Linked DNA regions of Homo sapiens: region 1 is linked to region 2. Evidence: promoter capture Hi-C in human tissues and cell types (Jung and others, 2019). All regions are on one chromosome and are shown on one strand. The core of a region is centred on a gene start or on the middle of the fragment in contact, and the rest is flanking DNA. Distances in the headings are between cores, read along the strand shown.

What was found. Contacts are between HindIII fragments. The study calls those that stand out against the background at their distance.
Region 1: the fragment with the promoter of PISD here is called in contact with the fragment with the promoter of RFPL2 in region 2 in 4 of the 25 tissues and cell types used here (heart left ventricle, liver, mesendoderm cells and 1 more).

The regions. Positions count from the first base shown.
Region 1 is chr22:31,660,243-31,664,380 of GRCh38, forward strand. It overlaps PISD (phosphatidylserine decarboxylase), which reads right to left and starts at 1,973. Exons shown (of 8, transcript NM_001326411.2): 1 at 1,902-1,973. The coding sequence starts at 1,966. RefSeq lists enhancers at 705-1,598, 894-1,033, 1,007-2,206, 1,424-1,473, 1,714-2,013 and 1 more. The HindIII fragment of the contact is 10,896 bases long and covers 1-4,138 here.
Region 2 is chr22:32,203,028-32,206,762 of GRCh38, forward strand. It overlaps RFPL2 (ret finger protein like 2), which reads right to left and starts at 2,046. Exons shown (of 5, transcript NM_001394555.1): 1 at 1,680-2,046. SLC5A4-AS1 (SLC5A4 antisense RNA 1) reads left to right here and starts at 2,088. Exons shown (of 4, transcript NR_149072.1): 1 at 2,088-2,220. RefSeq lists an enhancer at 3,490-3,735. The HindIII fragment of the contact is 14,140 bases long and covers 1-3,735 here.

The DNA of each region.
Region 1 (4,138 bases), core at 723-3,222, 540 kb before region 2:
CTCACCCACTGCATCTAAGTCTAGCCTTATCTATCTACACTGGTACTAAAACATAGCTTTTTTTCTTTCCCTTTTAATGATGGTGACTGAGGTACAGCCTCCTCTCATCATTTAAAAAAATTATTTTAGGTGGACTGCGATGGCTCACTTCTGTAATGCCAGCACTTAGAGAGGTGAAAGTGGGTGGATCACTTGAGCCCAGGAGTTCAACACCAGCCTGGGCAACATGGTGAAACCCTGTCTCCACCCCCACCCCCAAAAAAAATGCAGCTGGGCGGGGTGGCGTGCACCTGTGGTCCTAGCTACTCAGGAGGCTGAGGTGGAAGAACTGCTTGAGACCAGGAGGTGGAGGCTGCAGTGAGCCATCATCACACCACTGCACTCCCTCTTGGGCAACAGAGTGAGGCTCTGACTTCCAAAACAAATAACAACAACAAAAAACAATTTTTTAAGAGTCTCATTTTAGTCCTTTCAATTCGTGACACACTTTATTTATTTTTAATTTTTTTGAGACAGAGTCTCACTCTGTCGCCCAGGCTGGACTCCAGCGGCGCAGTCTTGGCTTATTGCAACCTCCGCCTCCCAGGTTCAAGCAATTCTCCTGCCTCAGCCTCCCAAGTAGCTGGGATTACAGGTGCCTGCCACCATGCCCGGCTAATTTTTGTATTTTTTAGTAGAGACAGGGTTTCACCACATTGGCCAGGCTGGTCTCGAACTCCTGACCTCAAGTGATCCACCCACCTTGGCCTACCAAAGTGCTGAGGTTACAGGCGTGAGCCACCGCGCCCAGCCTGTGACACACTTTAAATGAATTCAGGGTTGACTCATACACAGCACGCCTGGTAATAACATTGAAAACAAAGTCTCCTGCCCAAATTCTAACAGTTACCACCACAATGCAGAGCCCTCTCCTGAGAGATAATCATTTCTGTACAGTTAATGATGAAAGAGTGACGCTTTCATAACAAGACCAATGATGGTTTCTGTTCCCTCTCAGTCCAAATCCAGTGTCCGTCTCCTCCCAAAACAATAGGTTATCCTCTGATCAACGCTGACAAAATGAACCCTGTAGGAAACACACAAGTATGGCGCATCTCTCAAATCTTAGCTCTTTGAAATGACACCAGGCAGCCGACTCTGAATCACAGCTACATTTTAATCCATTTTCCGACACTCCAAATGCTCTAAGCTATTTTCTGTATAACCACTGCCCTCACGGCGGGCAGCCTGAGAGAAAGATCGTCGCGTGAGGGGGTACCTTGATGGGGGTCCGGGCTCTGCTACAAACTGGCTAGGTGAACTTGAGCAAATCCCTCCCTCTCTCGGAGCCTCAATCTCATTAACTCCAAAGAGAGACAGCTGGACTCAGAAGACCCCTCAAGTCTCCCACATTTCTAAGAATCTAACAGCTGGGGGTCACAAGGGTAACCAAGACTCTAGCCCCATAACATATTGTTTTGAGATTACCTAACCTAACCCTCTAGCTTCAAAGACTAAGATCCAGAAATGAAAGTTGCCTGACACTCAATCTAGTGTCCTTCCCACAGGACATCATTCCTTCTACGAAAACGAACACACGAGAAAATGGCATCTGAACATCTGAAAGCCCTGCCTCGACTCAAGAGACGGGCAGGTAGCCTATTTCATCTGATTTTTGTCCCTCGTGAACTTCCACCTAGCTGGAAAGGGCAAAGCGCGAGCTTCTAGGCCACACCCTAAGTAAATCCGGACCGCCCTACGCAGGAGCAGTCGCACCTGCTCCTAAGCTCGAGGTGAAGGTGGCTCCGTCTCCACCCGAGCTCGCCTCAGAGCGAGCCCGCGACACAGAAACATCTCTCTTCAGACCCCAGCTTGGTCCAGGTTGCCCCACGCCCCAAGGTAGTCTCTCCGCGCTGCTATACCTGCTCCGCCACGGCGCGACCCCGTGCAGTAATCCCAGACATCGGTGCCCCACGGACGTCGCCATCTTGTCTGCTCCTTCTCAGCGTGCCACGCCCCCTTCACACGCTGGGCGCACGCTTAAGGCGTCACGAGTCTCGAGTTCAGTGGGCCAATGAGAAAAGCGCGGGTTGGGGGCGGAGCCGACTAAGCTCCGCCCTGTGGCTACTCCCCACCTAACCCGCTTGGCACCTGCGGAGGTAGGGGAACTAGTGGAGCTGTAGGTTTCGCTAAACCTGGGCTTGGTCGCAGCACTGCCACTCCTCCTCCTTCCCTCTGGGTGCCTTTCCTCATGTACCTGGAAAATCTGAGTCATCCAAGATCCAAGAATGTCGTTTCAAGTGATCGAACTTGCTCATTTTACGGATGGGGAAACTGGGCATCCATGACTCAGCTCTCGTTTTTTAAGCGCCGGAGTGTGTTGTGAGCACTTTGCAAGCATGGTGTCATATCATTCTTATCTCCTACCGCTGTGCTGCCAGGGAGACCGGGGGCAAACGGTCTTGGATCACCTAGAAATGCAACCAGTCGTTAAATTCGGTGCCTGGTGCTTGCTCTTGAAAAGGTTCCTATCTTCAATTGTAAGAGGAAAACGAGTTTTCAATCATGTCTGCTACTTTTTACTGAGCACTGACTAGAGACTCGCAGCTAGGCCCGAGACATTATCCCCATTTTAAAGATGAGGTACCTGAGGCTCAGGAAGGTTAAGCAACATCTTCAAGGGTACATAAAGGGCATATGCCCAAAGACTATAAAATAGTGAAGCCAGAATTTGAACATACGTCTCTGACTCCAAAAACCATGTCCTAAACATCTTCTTCTTTTTTTTTTTTTTTTGAGACAGAGTCTCTCATTGTCGCCCAGGCTGGAGTGCAGTGGCGCGATCTCGATTCACTGCAAGCTCCGCCTCCCGGGTTGACGCCATTCTCCTGCCTCAGCCTCCCGAGTAGCTGGGACTACAGGCGCCCGCCACAACGCCCGGCTAATTTTTTTATATATATTTTTCGTAGAGACGGGGTTTCACCATGTTAGCCAGGATGGTCTCGATCTCCTGACCTCGTGATCCGCCCGCCTCGGCTTCTCAAAATGCTGGGATTACAAGCGTGAGCCACCGCACCTGGCCTAAACATTCTTCCTTTTAAGCCCTTTGTCAGAATCTGGCAGAATTTGGGTCCAACAACTGAAGGAATGCAGCCCTACTTTTTCATCTGCTAAGCTGATAATCACAGTTGCCTTCACCAGGCATTTGACAGGAGGAGGAATATGCTCCCTGGTCCCTGCAGGTATTTCTGTGTAGTTGGCTTAAGTTCAACTAGGGCATACTCAGCTCCTACAGAGAGCTTAAAAGGCACCAGGTTTGGTATTGGGGGGAAGAAACCTCCCTTTGTCATGGTTTTCAAAAGTCGGAAAAGAAAAAAACAAATGTATAGAATTGGTTTTGGCCGGGCGCAGTGGCTCACGCCTGCAATCCCCACTCACTGGGAGGCTGAGGTGGGAGGATAGCTTGAGCCAAGGAGTTGAGACCAGCCTGGGCCGGGCGCGGTGGCTCACGCCTGTAATCTCAGCACTTTGGGAGGCCGAGGTGGGCGGATCACGAGGTCAAGAGATTGAGACCATCCTGGCTAACACGATGAAACCCCATCTCTACTAAAAATACAAAAAAAATTAGCCGGGCGTGGTGGCGGGCGCCTGTAGTCCCAGCTACTCTGGAGGCTGAGGCAGGAGGATGGCGTGAACCCGGGAGGCGGACTTGCAGCGAGCCGAGATCGCGCCATTGCACTCCAGCCTGGGTGACAGAGTGAGACTCCGTCTCAAAAAAAAAAAAAAAAAAAAAAAGGAAGTAAAAAAGAGACCAGCCTGGACAACATAGTGAGACTCCATCTCTTTTTTTTTTTTTTTAAGAGGCTGGGCACCGTGGCTCACCCTATGATCCCAGCACTTTGGGAGGCCAAGGCGGGCGGATCACCTGAGGTCAGGAGTTCGAGACCAGCCTGGCCAACATGGTGAAACCCCATCTCTATTAAAAATACAAAAATTAGCTGGGCATAGTGGCGCCTGCCTGTAATCCCAGCTACTCCAGAGGCTGAGGTACGAGAATTGCTTGAACCCGGGAGGGGGAGGTTGCAGTGAGCTGAGATAATGCCATTGCACTCCAGCCTGGGAGACAGAGTGAGACACCATTTAAAAAAAAAATACATAT
Region 2 (3,735 bases), core at 796-3,295:
GAGGAGGTGGCCGGGAAGAGGAGGACCGCTCCTCTCTTGCAGACCACCGCTGTCACTGACACCTCCACCGCCCGCCACCGGCAGTGCAGTCCCAGATGGCGCCCCTAACTCATCCGTGCCTAGTACATGCAGCACCCAATGGCGCTGGCAGCCTGCCCCCTGCCACGGGCAGCGCAGCCCGGGATAACTCCCCAAACCCGCTCTGTGCTGTGGGCAGTGCAGCCACGGATACCACCCTCAACCAGCCCCTCGCCACAGGAAATGACTCCCGGGATAGCGCCCCAAATCAGCCCCCAGCCTCGGGCAGTGACGCCTGGAGTAGGTCACCCAACCCAACTCCTGCGCGGGCAGTGCAGCACCAGATAGCGCCCCTAAAACGCCTCCCGCCACCGGCGGTGTAGCCCAGGATAGCGCCGCCAACCCGGTACTCGCCGCGGCAGTGTAGCGATAGGGCACCCAATCTGCCACCCACCGCCGGCAGTGCAACCCCAGATAGCGCACCGAACTCACTCCCTGCTGGGCAGTGCAACCCCACATAGCATCCAACCCGCCTCCCCACCCAGCCACTGGCAGTCCGCCCCCGATAATGTCCCATACACGCTCCTGGCTGTGGGCAGTGCAGCCCATGGGTAGCGCCCCCAACCAGCCCCCAGCCATGGGGAGTGATGCCTCGGATAACACACCCAACAAGTTCCCCACCATGGCACTGATGTCCCAGGTAGCGCCCCCAATCCTTGCCCCTCAGCGACCAGTGCAGCCATGGATAGCGCCCTCAACAAGCCCCTCCACTGACCCCCGCCGCTGTGGGAAATGACGCCCGGGATAACGCACCCAACCCTCCCCCGCCATGAGCAATGCAACACGCACTACTGCTCCTTACACGCCCCCCACTACATGCGGTGTAGCCAACGATGGCGCCCCCATCTCCCCCTCGCCTCGGGCAGTGTAGCTCCCGATAGTGCATCCAACCCATTCCCTCTGCCCCTCTCCTCCCACCGAGTCAACCACCGCCGGCAGTCCAACCCCAAATAGCGCACCCAATCCACTCCCTGCCAGGCAGTGAAGCCCCCCGATAGCACCCAACCCGCACCCCCACCCCCGCCACTGGCAGTCCGCCCCGATAACGCCCCAACACGCTCCTGGCTGTAGGCAGTGTAGCCCATAGATAGAGCCCCCAACCAGCCCCCAGCCAAGGGCAGTGACGCCTCGGATATCACAGCCAACAAGTTCCCTGCCATGCGCACTGATGTCCCAGATAGCGCCCCCAACCCGTACCCCAGCGCGACCAGTGCAGCCACGGATAGCGCCCCCAGCAAGCCACCCCGCGGCTGCGGGAAATGACGTCCGGTAAAGCACCCAACCTTCCCGTGCTGTAGGCAGTGCAGCACCCAATACTGCCCCTAACACGCCTCCCACCACCGGGTTGTAGCCCACGATGGCGCCCTCAATCCGCCCCCGCTCCCACCTCGGGCAGTGCAGCTCCAGATCGTGCATCCAACCTGTCCCCCTCCCCGCCCCCTGCCGCAGGCAGTGAGCCCTGGATAGCTCATCCACCCCGCCACCTTTCTACATTCTGGCTGCGGTCTAGTCTCCCTCACCGCCACCAACGGCAGCGAGCCGAGCCATGCTGCTGCAGGCTTTCAAGCCTCCAGCGTGGGACAGGTGACTCCTCCTCTAACCTGGGCATGGAGCAGATGGGCTGGCAGACGCAGAAGTGCCTGGAATGGCAAGAACCCCTCCCCCCACAGACCGAGGTTATGCAAGTAAGGTTTCTGGACTACATGTTCAGATTGGATGAGAGAAAAACCTCTAGGTCTACTCTGATTGTGCTTTATTTTCACGTTCTGACTGGATGACAGCAAGTCTTAGGATAACCAATCAGAACAAGATAACAAAGCCCGATCAGAGTAGGCCTAGAGGTTTCTCTCATCCGATCAGACTATGTAGTCGAGAAACTTCATTTGCATTAAACTCAGTATATAAAGGATGCCAAGAGGGGTGGCTTGCCCTTCCAGGCTCATCTGCGTCGGCCTGCGTAGCTGCTCTGTGCCCGGCTTAGAGGAGAAGGAGGAGGAGCCACTTGCCGCGCATGCCAGAGGCTAGAGTCATCTACCGCGCATGCTGGAGGCTGGAGCCTACAGTGGCTCACCTCGCTGCTGCGGTTGGTGGCCGCGAGGGTGACTACAGCGCAGCCAGAATGGTGAAAAGGTGGCAGAATAGGTTCGTTATCCCAGGCCGTACTGCCTGTGGCGTGGGGGGCGGGTTGGGGGCCCTATCCAGGGCGTCACTGCCCGTGTTGGGGGGCTGCTTGAGTGTGGTACCTCGGGCGTCACTGCCCGCTGAGGGGAGTGGGGTGGGGGCGCTATCCGGGGGCGCTATCCAGCCTATGGCTGGAGATGGGTTGGGGCGCTATCCGAAGCTGTAATTCCTGCGGCAGTGGGGAGTTTTGGGGGCACTATCTGGGGATGCACTGCCCGCGGCCGGGGGGCGGGGGTGAGTTAGTAGAACTATCAGGTGCTGCAATGCCCTGATGCCCTTGTTGGGGACAGGTTGTGGGGGGCTGGTGGGTGCAACACTGCTGGTGGCGAGGGTGGGTGCTGCTATCCGGTGCTACTCTGCCTGTGGGGGACGGGGGCGGGCGTGATATCCAGGGCATCATTGCCTGCATCTGGGAGCTGGTTGGGGACACTATCCATGGCTGCACTGCCCACAGTGGGGAGCGGGTTGGGGGCACTATTTGGGGCTGCAATGCTGGTGGTGGGGGACGGGTTAGGGTCACTATAGGGTGCTACACTGCTGGCAGTGGGGAGGGGGTTGTTGAGGGCGCTCTCTGGGGGCTACACTGAGACAGGTAGCGGGGGGTTGTTGGGATTGGTACCGGGGCTGGACTGCCCATGGAGAGGGGGTGGGGGCGTTGGTTGGGGGCGCTATTGAGGGCCGGGTACACTGCCTGCGGTGGAGGGGTGGGTTGGGTGCTATCAGGGGTCTGTACTGCCTAGCAGGGAGCGGGTGGGTGTGCTATCTGGGGCTGCACTGGCTGCAGCAGGGGCAGGTTGGGTGCACTATAGGGGGCTACACTGCCCTTGGCAGGGGGTGGTTTAGGTGAGCTGTCTGTGGCCGCACTGCCCGAGGTGGGGAGTAAGTTTGGGTGCTATCTGTGGCTGCACTGCCTGGAGGCAGGAAGTGGGTTGAGGGTGCTATCCTGGGCTGCTTCTCCTGGTGGGGAGCAGGTAGGGGCACTATCCAGGGTTGCACTGCCCGGGGTAGGGGGCGATTTGGGTGCCATATCGGGGCATCACTGCCCACGGCAGGGGTCTGGTTGGGGTCGCTACCCATGGCTACACTGTCTACAGCCACTGCCTACGGCAGGGAGCGGGTTGGGGGCGCTATCCCGGGCTGCGCTGCCCAAGGCAGGGGGTGGGTTGCGGGTGCCATTGGTGCTGCAGTGTCCGAGGCAGGGGCGGGTTGGGGTTGCCATCTGGTGCTACACTGCCAGCTGTGGGGGAGGGTCGGGGGCGCTATCGGGGGCTGCACCGTCCCCCTGGTGGTGGGCAGCGGAGGTGTCAGTGACAGCGGTGGTCAGAGGAGGTGAGAGGGACTCCAGTCTCTAGAGGGCCATCTCCTTCTGCTCCTGGCCAGCACACAGCATTTCTGCGGGGATCCTGAGCACGGCCCGGCCCCTAGACCTGCTGTGGTTCCCAGGCGCGCGCCCTCTCACCATGTGTTGCTGAGACC